Regions from separate parts of the Homo sapiens genome. Here region 1 is linked to region 2. Evidence: promoter capture Hi-C in human tissues and cell types (Jung and others, 2019). All regions are on one chromosome and are shown on one strand. The core of a region is centred on a gene start or on the middle of the fragment in contact, and the rest is flanking DNA. Distances in the headings are between cores, read along the strand shown. Region 1 holds the start of CIB3 (calcium and integrin binding family member 3). Region 2 overlaps TPM4 (tropomyosin 4).

Region 1 (6,627 bases), core at 3,071-5,570, 86 kb before region 2:
TGTGAAATAACTAGAACCTACAAACACTGATGGTGAGAAAGCAAACTAGTGCAGCCTCTTTAGGAAGAAGTTTGGCAAGTTTCTTATATACTGAATATGAGCCATTAATCCTACCCCTCGATATTTACCCAAGTGGAATAAAAAAAAAATACAAAAAATTAGCGAGTGCGGTGGCACCTGCCTGTGGTCCCAGCTACTTAGGAGGGTGAGGTGGGAGGATCAGTTGAGCTCAGAAGGTAGAGACGAGTCTGAACGACATGGTGAGATCCCATCTCTACAAAAATTTAAAAAATTAGCCAGGTGTGGTGGTGTGCACATTTCATGTAAATAGAATCACACTATATGGGACTGTTCATCTCTAGCTTCTTTCACTCAACATAATGTTTTTGTTTTCTTCTTTTCTCTTTTTTGCAAAAGTTACCTTGATCAGCATAATGTTTTTATTTGGGTTGTCTTTCTAGTTTTGAGATGTAAGAGTTCTTAGTTTTTATCGTGGGTTTTGTTTTTTGGTTTTTTTCGAGATAGAGTCTCGCTCTTGTTGCCCAGGCTGGAGTGCAGTGGCACGATCTCAGCTCACTGCAACCTCCCCCTCCCAGGTTCAAGCGATTTTCCTGTCTCAGCCTCCCGAGTAGCTGGGATTACAGGCGCCCACCACCACACCTGGCTAATTTTTTGTATTTTTAGTAGAGACAGGGTTTCACTATGTTGGCCAGGCTGGTCTCTAACTCCTGACCTCAGGTGATCCACCCACCTCATTCTCCCAAAGTGCTGGGATTACAGGCGTGCGCCCGGCCCTGAGAGTTCTTTATATATTCTGAATAGTAGTTCCTTATGAGATATATGATTCACAAATACAGTTAGCCCTTCATATCCAGTTTCCTTATCCATGGATTCAATAAACCACGGAGTGAAAATACCTGGAACCAATAAAATAAAAATAATACAACAATAAAAAGAATACAAATAAAAATGTGTAACAATTATTTATGTAGCATTTATATTTCATTAGATATTATACATAATTTAGAGATAATTTAAAGTCTATGGAGGGCCGGGCATGGTGGCCCATGTAATCCCAGCATTTTGAGAGGCCAAGGTGGGCCGGATCACTTGAGGTCAGGAGTTTGTGACCAGCCTGGCCAACATGGCAAAACCCCGTCTCTACTAAAAATATAAAAATTAGCTGGACACAGTGGTGTGCACCTGTAATCCCAGCTACTAGGGAGGCTGAGGCAGGAGAATTGCTTGAACCTAGGAGGCAGAGGTTGCAGTGGGCTGAGATTACGCCACTGCACTCCAGCCTGGGTGACAGAGCCAGACTCCAACTCGAAAAAGTAAAATAAAAATAAATAAATAAATAAATAAAGTGTATGGAAGATGTGCACAGGCTATATGCAAATATTATGCCATTTTATATAAATGACTTGAGCACTGAGCATTTGTCCCATTCTGTGGGCATGACAGGTTTTTGTGTGAACCTAGTTTAAATTTTTTTTTTACACTATACTTTATTTTTTTAGAGCAGTCTTAGTTTCACAGCAAAATTGATCAGAAGGTACAGAGATTTCCCGTACACCTGCTGCTTTCATACTTGTATAGCTTCCCCTACAATCAACATCCTCCACATGCAAGTGCATGACAGTAGCTAGTCTGTTACAATTGATGAACTGACACTGATACATCATTATCACCCACAGTGGTTAGTGGATAGTTTACATTAGGGGTCACTCTCAGTTGAACATAGGTTTTTATTTCCCTTGGGTAAACACCCAGGAGTCTTTTTTTTTTTTTTTTTTTGAGACAGGATCTCACTCTGTCTCCCAGGCTGGAGTGCAGTACAGTGGAGTGATCATAGCTCACTTCATCCTCGACCTCCCTACCTCAAGCAAACCTCCCAAGTAGCTGGATACCACCAAACCTGGCTAATTTTTGTATTTTTGTAGAGATGGGGCTTCACCATGTTGCCTAGGCTGGTCTCCAACTCCTGGGCTAAAGTGGTCCTCTTGCCTTGGCCTCCCAAAGTGCTGGGATTACAGGCATGAGCCACCATACCAGGCCCTGAATCTTGTGGTAAGGTTAAGTTTAATTCTATTTAAAAAAAACCCAGCCAACCTATTTTCCAGAGTGTCTATACCATTTTGCATCAACACCAGCAATGTATGAGCATTCCAGTTGCTCCATACCCTCACCAACACTTGATATTGTTTATTTTTTGAAAGTTATTCTTGGATGGCTGGGCATGGTGGTTCATGCCTGTAATCCCAGCACTTTGGGAGGCTAAGGTGGGTAGATCACTTGAGGCCAGGTGTTCAAGACCAGCCTGGGCAACATAGACAGACCCTGTCTCCACAAAAAATACAAAAAAAAAAAAATTAGCCGGATGTGGCAGCATGTGCCTCTAGTGCCAGCTACCTGGGAGGCTGAGGAAGGAGGGTCGCTGCAGTGAGCCATGATTGTATCACTGCTCTCCAGCCTGGGTGACAGAGTGAGACCCTGTCTCAAAAAAAAAAAAAAGTCATCCTTGAGGCATCTTTCAAGCCTGATCAGGGTCACATTTTACAAGATGACTGCACAGATTTGGCAGAGGATGCTTGATGAGGCCGAGGCAGGAAAGCCTGCTGGGAAACATTGCAATAGTCCAGGCCAGGTAGAGAAAACACAGGTGAGACCCAAAGTGAGAAGGGCATGGAGGGCCAGGCTAAGAAATTTAGACTCTCAGATTCTCCACCCAAGAGGATTCTGGGCCTTAATAAAGTTGGTAGCTGCTACATTAGATCTGCCCTTTGGGCCGGGCGAGGTGGCTCACACATGTAATTCCAGCACTTTGGGAGGCCGAGGCGGGTGGATCACCTGAGGTCAGGAGTTCGAGACCAGCCTGGCCAACATAGTGAAACTCTGTCTCTACTAAAAATACAAAACTTAGCCAGGCGTGGTGGTGGGCGCCTGTAATAATCCCAGCTACTCGGGAGGCTGAGGCAGGAGAATGGCCTGAACTCGGGAGGTGGAGCTTGCAGTGAGCCGAGATCACGCCACTGCACCCTAGACTGGGTGACAGAGCGAGACTCCGTCTCAAAAAAAAAAAATACAAAAAAAATTAGCTTGGCATGGTGGACACCTGTGGTCCCAGCTACCTGGGATGCTGAGGCAGGAGAATCACTTGAACCTGGGAGGCAGAGATTGCAGTGAACCGAGATCACACCACTGCACTCCAGCCTGGGCAACAGAGTGAGACTGTCTCAAAAAAATAAAATGTAATAAAATAATAATGTCAATGCACACCCCAGAACTTCATCTAGCTTGTTCACCATTATGTTCCCAATGCAGTGATGCAATCATGGCTCACTGCAGCCTCAAACTCCTGGGCTCAAGCAATCCTCCCACCTCAGCCTCCTGAGTAGCTGGGACCACAGGCATGCACCACCACATCCAGCTAATTTTTGTATTTTTAGTAGAGATAGGGCCTTGCCATGCTGCCCAAGCTGATCTTGAACTCCTGGCCTCAAGTGAATCTCATGCTTTGTCCTCCTAAAGTGCTGGGATTACAGGTATGAGCCACCTCGCCCAGCCAAAACCTTTTTTTTTTTTTTGGAGATGGAGTCTTACTCTGTCACCCAGTCTGGAGTGCAATGGCGGGATCTCGGCTCACTGCAACCTCCACCTCCTGGGTTCAAGCAATTCTCCTGCCTCAGTCTCTGGAGTAGCTGGGATTACAGGCATGTGTCACAATGCCAAGCTAATTTTTGTATTTTTAGTAGAGATGGGGTTTTGCCGTGTTGGCCAGGCTGGTCTTGAACTCCTGACCTCAGGTGATCCGCCTGCCTGGCCCTCCCAAAGTGCTGGGATTACAGGTGTGAGCCACCTTGCCCAGTCAAAACCTTTTTTTTTTTTTTTTAAATCTCAGATCCTGAGAATGACCCTATGAGGTAGGTATAATGTAATTTTCATCTCATGAATGAGGTTCAGAGAAGTCAGGTGACTTGCCCAGGGCCACACAGCTAGTGGGCAGAGAGCTGGGATTTGAGCTGCAGTGTGCCCATAGCCCTTCTGTATACCCTGCCTGTCTCTTGAGTGTGCCCCATAACCCCAGCCTCACCTTGTGGTGGCAGATGTGGCCTCCCCACTGAGGTCTTCTCTGTGACATCCCACAGCCCTTATCCTTACCCATGGACACATTCAGGCTGTTGTCCAGAGAGCCTGGCTGTAATTTGAGTCTCATCAAGCAGGGGGTGATGGCGTAGGTGGGTGGGTGACAGCCAGGGCAGGGAGATTTGCCCAGACACTGGTACACAACAGCCTGGCAACCCGTGTGGCCCCGAGGAAGCTGGGAGCCTTTGGGGTGCATCCCCAAGTCTGGGCTGTGGTTCACACCATGGGCAACAAGCAGACAGTCTTCACACACGAGCAGCTGGAAGCGTATCAGGTAGAGGGGGGCAGGATGGGTCCTCAGTGGGTTTGACAACTTTGGTTCCGTGGTCTGGGAAATGGGAACAGAATGCCTTCATCTGGGTGTACCGTCCGCCTGGGTTCCTGGTTCTGCTCTGTGTGTGGCAGCATCAGGCCATCTGTGTGAGTGTGGGGTGGAGGGAGGAGGCCGTGGGAGGAGGCCCCAGAGGCAGGGTTCGGGTTAAGACAACACCTCTCTCCACAGGACTGCACATTTTTCACAAGGAAGGAGATCATGAGGTCAGTCCAGGGAGGAAGGGAGAGAAGATCTGGAAAAACAACTTTCTATTCATTGCTGGAGGATATTTGCAATTTGGTGTGTGTGTGTGTGTGTGTGTGTGTGTGTGTGTGTGTGTGTGTAAGTAGTCTTTCTTTCTTTCTTTCTCTTTTCTCTCTCTCTCTCCCTCCCTCCCTCCCTTCCTTCCTTCCTTCCTTCTTTTCTTTTTTTTTGAGACAGGGTCTGTCTCTATTGCCTGGGCTGGAGTGCAGTGGTGCAATCATGGCTCATTGCAGGCTCGATCTCCCAAGGTCAGGTGATCCTCCCACCTCAGCCTCTCGAGTAGCTAGGACCACTGGTGCGAGCCACCACATGTACCTCATTTTTGTATTTTTTTATAGAGATGGGGCTCTCACTATGTTGCCCAGGCTGGTCTTAAACCCTTGGGCTCAAGCGATCCCCCTGCCTCAGCCTCCCAAAGTGCTGGGATTACAGGTGTGAGCCACCATGCCCAACTGGTATTTCCAATTTGTTGGGACTCAAATGGGGAAGGGGGGCAGGTGTGGTCAGTGGACAGAGGCAGAGATGGAGAAGCTGACAAGTCACATCTTGTCATACTGTCCCAGTCTCTAGGCTGATGAGCTTGGGCTTTCTCCCAAGGGTGGCAGGGAGCTATGGAGCATGCATGAGCAGGGGAGAGACCATCAGCACGTTAGAAAGATTCTCCTGAGGCTGGGCGCGGTGGCTCATGCCTGTAATCCCAGCACTTTGGGAGGACAAGGTGGGTGGATCACCTGAGGTCAGGAGTTTAAGATCAGCCTGGCCAACATGGTGAAACCCCATCTCTGCTAATAATACAAAAATCAGCTGGGCGAGGTGGTGGGTGCCTGTAATCCCAGCTACTCAAGAGGCTGAGGCAGGAGAATTGCTTGAACCTGGGAGGTGGAGGTTGCAGTGAGCCGAGATCACGCCACTGTGCTCCAGCCTGGGTGACAGAGCTAGACTCTGCCTCAGAAAAACAAAATGAAAGATAAAGATTCTCCTGAGACTGGGACTTGAGGCTGGGAGCCCAGGTGCAAAGTCCAGAGCCCAGTCTGGGTTGTGGGCTTGGCATTAAGATGAGGGTGTGAGGAGGTGGCCCAAGGCTGCTGCAGGTCCCTGGCGTGACCCAGCACGATGGGCACAGATGAGTATCCCACATCATCACTCGGCCTGTGGGGCCATTGCCCAGGGGCCCCGACCCATGAACTTGGAGCTATGAAACCCAAGCTGGCCAGGGTTCAGCTGCAGTGTGATCGGGGCCAAGGCCCCAGTTGTGTAGTAACAGGACATCCATTATTGATGGCCACACCTTTTACTAGTGAGCCCCATTGTTTGGGTGAGGACAGCTTGCAGGGTCACCTCGGCCATCACGATCAAATTACTGATGGGGAAACTGAGGCTCAGACAGGGCGGGGCTGATCCCAGGCTGAAGGGTAAATGCACAGAGCCCCAAGGCCCCAAGGACAGACATTTTGTCTGTCCCAAGCTTCTTGCTTATCAGATAGAATAACCAAGGCACAGAGAGGGAGAGGAGAGGAACATGCTCAGAGCCACACAGAAACCTAAACCCAGGGTATTCCCTGATGGGACCCCGACAGGGAACTGAGTGGTCAGGATGAAAGTTCTAGGTCTCCCCACCCCACCTTCATTGAGTTCCTAGTCATCATATGACCTAGGGACTCATGTCTCTCTCAGAGACAGTCCCTAGCAGCTTGGGGACCTCAGACCCACCAAGGATGGTCTCTGCAAGGCTGCTGCTCAGCATGCCCTAATGAAGGTATGGTGTCACAGGTGAGGGCTTCTGAGTGGAGAACTGGCCTTATAATCTGGATAGTGTGTGTGGTATTCAGTTATTTGCAAAATATCTTTTGTCTGCCCTTTAGAAAAAATGTGACTATTAGCTGTTTGTCTCTGCTCTGCCCCAT
Region 2 (6,814 bases), core at 538-3,037:
GAACTATGATCATGCCACTGAATTCCAGCCTGGGCAACAGAGCGAAGCTCTGTCTCAAAAAAAAAAAAAAAAAAGTGGGGGGTGGAGGTGATGGGAGAACAAAGAATGTCTGTGAAACTGCAAAAGCAGGAGCAAGAATGAGGAAGAGGCTGGGAAATTCAGTGGGGTTCGGCCGTGGAAGTGTGTCCTTTGTTCCCGACGTAGCTGCCACGTAGCAACTGCTTTGGGTGCTGTTTCAAACTAAAAAGCCCAATTCCACCTCTGATCATTGCTATACCTTTGAGATGGTATTTCTGGAGGAACCAGGGGAATCAGGTGAGAGGCAGGCTCTGTATTTATTTATACAACTATGCTCAGATCTCGCTAAGAAGAGCCTCATGTTCTATCTCTATCCTCCTGAGATGGAGATCAAAGATGGTGCTCAGACCCCATGGAAGAGGACTCAAGAGTGTGCAGGAGAAATCCAGCTCTTTCTGTAGGGGAAAAACCCTGGCTGCCAGGCACCAACGCTACTGTTAAATAAAGGGCAGATTCCCCATAACCTGACAGGCTCCTGCATCCCTCGGGAGAAGAAAAGAACAAAGTCCAGCAAGCCACCCTCCAGCTCAAGCCAACCACCTACCTTTTCAGATGCAGCCTCCAGAGATTTCAGATTGTTAGTAACATTCTTGAGTTCTTCTTCCAGGTCACCACATTTTCTGCACAAAGACAAAGGATTTTTGTGTCTTATCTTCCCTTACAGCCGGCAATAATAGCAATCGCCCCAACAATAAATTTTCCAAAGGAGAAACCTACACAGCTCCCCCGGTGGGGGGCAGAAGGAATGTGGGGAGAAAATGTTAATGGATTTTTCTGCAGTGTGATACTATGGGCTTATCAAAGGCTTATCATACCAGGCAGAGGCGAGGTGCGCCCGAAGAGTATTTGGAGGGCTTGGAAAACACTCCTGGTCTTTTGCCAAGGGTAAGGCTGCAAGGACTTGTGAAATCTATGATTGATGAGGCCGACTCCGGAAGGTGTAAGAATGGGACTGAGGGCAGAAGGCGGGCAGAGAGCAATGGGAGTTTGCAGGGGACACTCCGGGAAGGAAGCCCGGAGTGGATTTGTGAAACCAGATCTCTCTCAGCACTCCCGGATGCTCTGTGGGGCTGAATTCCTCACCCGGGGCCAAGAGGACAGGTGTTTTGTTTTTCGGTGCTTGCTTGTGGGATTCTGGTTAAGCTTCTCACCTTCCCGCCAGGAATGTGTCACGGCCAAACACTGACAGGAGCAAAAGCATTTACATACTGACCGGGGGAGCCTGCCTTCTGGAGCAGGTCAGTGTTCTGTTAAGATGGCACAGCCCCCTGAGATATCCTCTCTGGGAAAATGGGACTTCTGGGCTTCCCTGCTGCCTCCTGTCTCACTCCTATTTCCTCATATCTTTGCAGAAAGGGTCAACACGTGGGCAGTGCTTCCCATGGCAGTAAGAACAAGTCACCACCTCTTTGTCACAGAAGCCAAGAGAAAAGATGAGCCATGAGCCCCTGACGCCCGTCCACTTGAGCAGAGACCCCGGTCAGAGCCAATTCCCAACACAGCCAGCTCCTTCCCACTCCGCCCCAGGAATCGAGCCAGCCTCGCTCAGTCCTGTTCTGCCACTCACAGTTCAGACACCTCCGCACGCTCCTCTGCCCTCTCCAGCTCACCCTCCAGGATGACCAGCTTACGAGCTACCTGCAGAGACAGAAAGGCCCAGCTGAGCCCGATCCCCACCAGCCGTGTCCTCTCCCATCCACTGCAGACAGCCCCCAATGATGCCCCACCCAGACCCCTAGACCAGCTGCAACATGGGTTTTTCTGGTGTTTCTTTTTTTTGCAGGGGGACGGAGTCTCCCTCTGTTGCCCAGGCTGGAGTGCAGTGGCACAGTCTCGGCTCACTGCAACCTCCACCTCCTGGGTTCAAGCGATTCTCCTGCCTCAGCCTTCCAAGTAGCTGGGACTACAGGCGCGTGCCACCACGCCCAGCTAATTTTTGTATTTTCAGTCGAGATGGGGTTTCACCGTAGTGGCCAGGCTGGTCTCGAATTCCTGACCTCCTGATCCACCTACCTCGGCCTCCCAGAGTGCTGGGATTATAGGCATGAGCCACCACACCTGGCCTCTTTTTTATTTTTTTATTCTTTTGAGACAGAGTCTCGCTCCATCACCCAGGCTGAAATGCAGTGGCTCAACCTTGACTCACTGCAACCTCTGCCTCCTGGGTTCAAGTGAATCTCCTGTCTCAGCCTTCCAAATAGCTGGGCTTACAGGCATGCACGACCATGCCCGGCTAATTTTTGTATTTTTTGTAGAGACAGGGTTTCACCACGTTGGCCAGGCTGGTCATGAACTCCTGACCTCAGGTGATCTGCCTGCCTTGGCCTCCCAAAGTGCTGGGATTACCGGCGTGAGCCACCATGCCCAGCCCTTTTATGTTTTTGACAGAGGGTCTTGCTCTGTCTCCAAGGCTGGAGTGCAGTGGCGTGGTCAGAGCTCACTGCAGCCTTGACTTCCCAGGTTCAAGCGATCCTCCTGCCTCAGCCTCCCAAGTAGCTGGGACTACAGGTGCATGCCACCACACCCAGCTAATTATTATTATTATTATTTTTAGAAATGGGGTCTCACTATGTTGCCCAGGCTGGTCTCAAACTCCTGGCCTCAGGTGATCCTCCCGCCTCGGTCGAAGTGCTGGGGTTACAGGTACGAGCCACCGCGCCTGGCCTTTTGCTGGCGCTTCAACTGAAAGAGCCATCCTGGGGCCTGGAGGAAATCCTGATTCTCTTCCTCAAGCCTGAGGAGCGAGGCAGACAAGAGGCGGGAGGGAAGAGCCGAGCCATCGAGGGAGGCAAAGGAGGGCCTGAGCTTGCATGGTCTGAAACTCCATGGCTTGGGACCACAATCCTCCATTTTTGCCCAACTGTGCCAAAACTCCCAGCTAACGACACAAGTGAGCTGATCATTCGGTTTTCCCATTACGTTAGACAAGCGTCCGCAGCACTTTCTGGCATCGTGGGAGATAGTTTCCTAGCCAAGTGGTTGTCTCTGGACAAACATATGTTCACGCAGGAGGACAGCTGACCTAACCGAGAGCTTCCTTTCGTTGGCCCCGGTGTCCTCCCTATCTCAGCAGATGCATTTCCTCCCACTTCCTGCTGCTGCGCCATCTGCCAGCCCCACTCACCTCCTCGTATTTGCGGTCAGCCTCTTCCGCAATGTGCTTGGCCTCTTTGAGCTGCATCTCCTGAATCTCCATCTTCTCCTCATCCTTCATGGCCCGGTTTTCTATCACCTTCATTCCTCTGCAAGGAGCAATCTCATCAGGACGGCCGTTCACTCACACCCCTCCACCCACCTCTCATCTATCTTTTCTTTCAGATGGAGTCTCGCTCTGTCATCCAGGCTGGAGTGCAGTGGCACGATCTCAGCTCACTGCAACCTCCACCTCCCGGGTTCAAGCGATTCTCCTGCCTCAGCCTCCTGAGTAGCTGGAATTACAGGCACCCGTCACCATGTCTGGCTAATTGCGTGAGACACCACCCCTAGTCCCATCTCTCATCTAAATGAGTCTCTGAATCTACTGAGCACTGTAACACACTGCAAAGATGGAACTCTGTGCACACATTTCCTTCATCTTGGTTTTTTTTTTTTTTTTTGAGATGGAGTCTCGCTCTGTCACCCAGGCTGGAGTGCAGTAGTGTGATCTCAGCTCACTGCAGCCTCCATCTCCTGGGTTCAAGCAATTCTCCTGTCTCAGCCTCCAGCATAGCCGGGACTATAGGCATGCACCACCGTGACCGGCTAACTTTTATATTTTTAGTAGAGAGGGGGTTTCGCCATGTTGGCCAGGCTGGTCTGGAACTCCTGACCTCAAGTGATCTGCCCGCCTTGACCTCCCAGAGTGCTGGGATTACAGGTGTGAGCCACCGCGCCCAGCCTCCCTTCATCTTTACTACCAGGCACTTTTCTAAGTGCCTTCACTTTCACAACTGCCCTATGGAGCAGGTAAATTATCCACATTTTACAAATGAAGAAACTAAGGCATAGAGAGAGGGTAAGTAACTTAAGGTTACAGAGCTGGTAAGTGGTAGAGCTGAGGCTCAGCCCTTGGCAGTCTGACTCCAGAGTCTGTGCCCCCTTTCTTTTTCTTTTATTTTGAGAGATGGTGTCTCACTCTGTTGCCCAGGTTGGAGTGCAGTGGTGCCCTGAGAGCTCACGGCAGCCTTGTCCTCTCAGGCTCAAGCAATCCTGTTGCCTCGGCCTCCTGAGTAGCTGGGACTATAGGTGTGCACCACTGCACCCAGCTAAACTAAAAAAAAATTTTTTGTGGAGGTGGGGGTTTTGCAATGTTGCTGAGGTAGGAGGATCGCTTGAGCCCAGGAGTTCAAGGCTGCGGTGAGTCGTGATTGCACCACTGCTCTCCAGCCTGGGTGACAGAGCAAGACGTTGTGTATTTATTTATTTTTTTTCTTGAGACAGGTTCTCACTCTGTTGCCCAGGCTGGAGTGTAGTGGTGTAATCATAGCTCACTGCAACCTTGCCTTCCTGGGATCAGGTGATTCTCCCACCTCAGTCCCTTGAGTGGCTGGGACTACCAGCATGCACTACCATGCCTGGCTAATTTTTAATATTTTTTTGTAGAGATGGGGTCTCACTATGTTGCGCAGGCTGGTCTCAAACTCCTGGGCTCAAGCGATCCGCCCGCCTCCCAAAGGGCTGGGATTACAGGTGTGAGCCACCGCACCCTGCCAAGACCTTGTGTATTTAAAACAAGAAAAGAAAAGAAAAGAAGAGGCCAGCCTGGGATAATGTGTCATTGATATGTATCATTCCCACCCAGCACAGAGACCATATGCTTCTTGCTGTCCAATAAATATGTTCACGTGGGGTGTCACCCGTTCTCAGCTAAGTCTCAAAACACCCTCCCCCACCTGTACGAGGTCTCACCCTCAGCATGTGAGCAAGCTCTCTGGGTTATTTATTGCCCCAAAACCCCTTGTAGTACCCAAGAGATCAAAGTGACTTGCCTAAGGCTCCATAGAAAGTGCCAGTGGTAGAAGCTGACTCTAGATCCCCAAGCTTCAAGTATATAATTCTTTCTACTGAGACACAGCAGTCTTTAACAGGGGTGTCACCAAAGGCCTCTGGGGACATGGTGCAAACAAGAGACTGGCCTTCGCAGCCTCCCTTGGTTTGCCAATATGGGAGCCCTCAACGTCAGCATCCAGCCAGGCTGGTCTGACTGTGAACAGCAGCTAACCCAGGCCACAGGCACAGCCAGGAACTCTCGTGACTGGGTCCTTCCACTGCCCCGTGGCTGCCGGAGCTGCCACTCTCTCCCTTGATTCAGTGGCTGAAGCAGAGTCTGCAGTAGCGTCTGTTCCCTCTGCCCTGGCTGTTCCACTACTTGGGAAGAAATTTCCAGCTTGGGTGACATGCAATCTCCAAGATTCCTTAGCTGGTTTCTAATCTCTGGTTAGTGGTCACAGCAGCACAACCAGAAATGCATCTTAAATTAGCTAGGCGTGCCAGCACTTTGGGAGGCCAAGGCAGGTGGATTACAAGGTCAGGAGCTTGAGAACATCGTGGCTAACACGGTGAAACCCTGTCTCTACTAAAAATACAAAAAAATTAGCCGGGTGTGGTGGCGGGTGCCTGTAGTCCCAGCTACTTGGGAGGCTGAGGCAGGAGAATGTCGTGAACCCAGGAGGTGAAGCTTGTAGTGAGCTGAGATCACGCCAGTGCACTCCAGCCTGGGCGACAGAGCGAGACTCTGTCTCAAAAAAAAATTAGCTGGGCATGATGGCATGCGCCTGTAGTCCCAGCTTTACTCTGGAACTCTGGAGGCCGTGGCGGGAGGATCGCTTGAGCCCAGGAGGTCGAGGCTGCAGTGAGCTGTGATCGCACCACTACATTCCAGCCTGGGTGATAGAGTAAGACCCTGTCTCAAAAAAAAAAAAAAAAAAAGAAATGAATCTTTGGGAGGTGTTTATACTGCAAAAGCATGGTGGCTGGCTCAAGTGAGAACTCCGGTGTGAATGAGGGGCAGACGCGATGATCACTGGTCGGGCCCACACCATTGCCACACAAGGAACTCCTTTTCCACCACACACAGACTGCTGCTTCTGTGAATTACACAATCTACCCTCAGTCTTCCAGAGAGCCTGTGCCAAGGCGTGCCAGAGAATGATCTGGCTACCGAGGAGAAGGCACCCTACTGGTGGCTGGGTTGCAGCACAGATACCATGGGCGGGTGAGGAACGTGGTCAGTTTCTTTTTGAGACAGAGTCTCACTCTGTTGCCCAGGCTGGAGTGCAGTGGTGCGATCTTGGCTCACTGCACCCTCTGCCTCCTGGGTTCAAGCTGGGGGATCTTGCCTTAGCCTCCTGAGTAGGTGGGATTACAGGTGCCCGCCACCACGCCCAGCTAATTTGTGTATTTTTAATAGAGACGGGGTTTCACCATGTTGGCCAGTCTGGTCTCAAACACCTGACCTCAGTTGATCCACCCGCCTCGTCATCGCAAAGTGCTGGGATTATAGGCGTGAGCCACGGCACCTGGTGCATGGTCAGTTGCAAGTACATTAACCATGCTGGTTTGCAACTGTCCCTGAAATAGCTGTCACCGTCCAAAAGCCTAAAGCCTGACAGCTCTGCTAACAATCACCTGTGCATCCCAAGTTTCCTTTCCTCCTCTCCACAGTACTCTGCTTTTTTTTTTTTTTTTTTTTTTTTGAGACAGAATCTCATCTGTCACTGAGGCTGGAGTGCAGTGGCACAATCTTGCCTCACTGCAG

What was found. The method cuts DNA at HindIII sites, captures the fragments that hold promoters and counts their contacts. A contact is called where the count stands out against the background at its distance.
Region 1: the fragment with the promoter of CIB3 here is called in contact with a fragment that was not itself captured in region 2 in 4 of the 25 tissues and cell types used here (dorsolateral prefrontal cortex, lymphoblastoid cells, small bowel and 1 more).

What each region holds. Positions count from the first base shown.
Region 1 is chr19:16,171,218-16,177,844 of GRCh38, reverse strand. It overlaps CIB3 (calcium and integrin binding family member 3), which reads left to right and starts at 4,320. Exons shown (of 6, transcript NM_054113.4): 1 at 4,320-4,420; 2 at 4,649-4,683. The coding sequence starts at 4,370. The HindIII fragment of the contact is 31,728 bases long and covers 1-6,627 here.
Region 2 is chr19:16,082,929-16,089,742 of GRCh38, reverse strand. It overlaps TPM4 (tropomyosin 4), which reads right to left. Exons shown (of 8, transcript NM_003290.3): 3 at 3,203-3,320; 4 at 1,646-1,716; 5 at 623-698. Among named protein-coding and RNA genes, the nearest start is that of TPM4, 9.8 kb to the right of the region's middle. RefSeq lists an enhancer at 3,206-3,255. The HindIII fragment of the contact is 7,259 bases long and covers 1-5,416 here.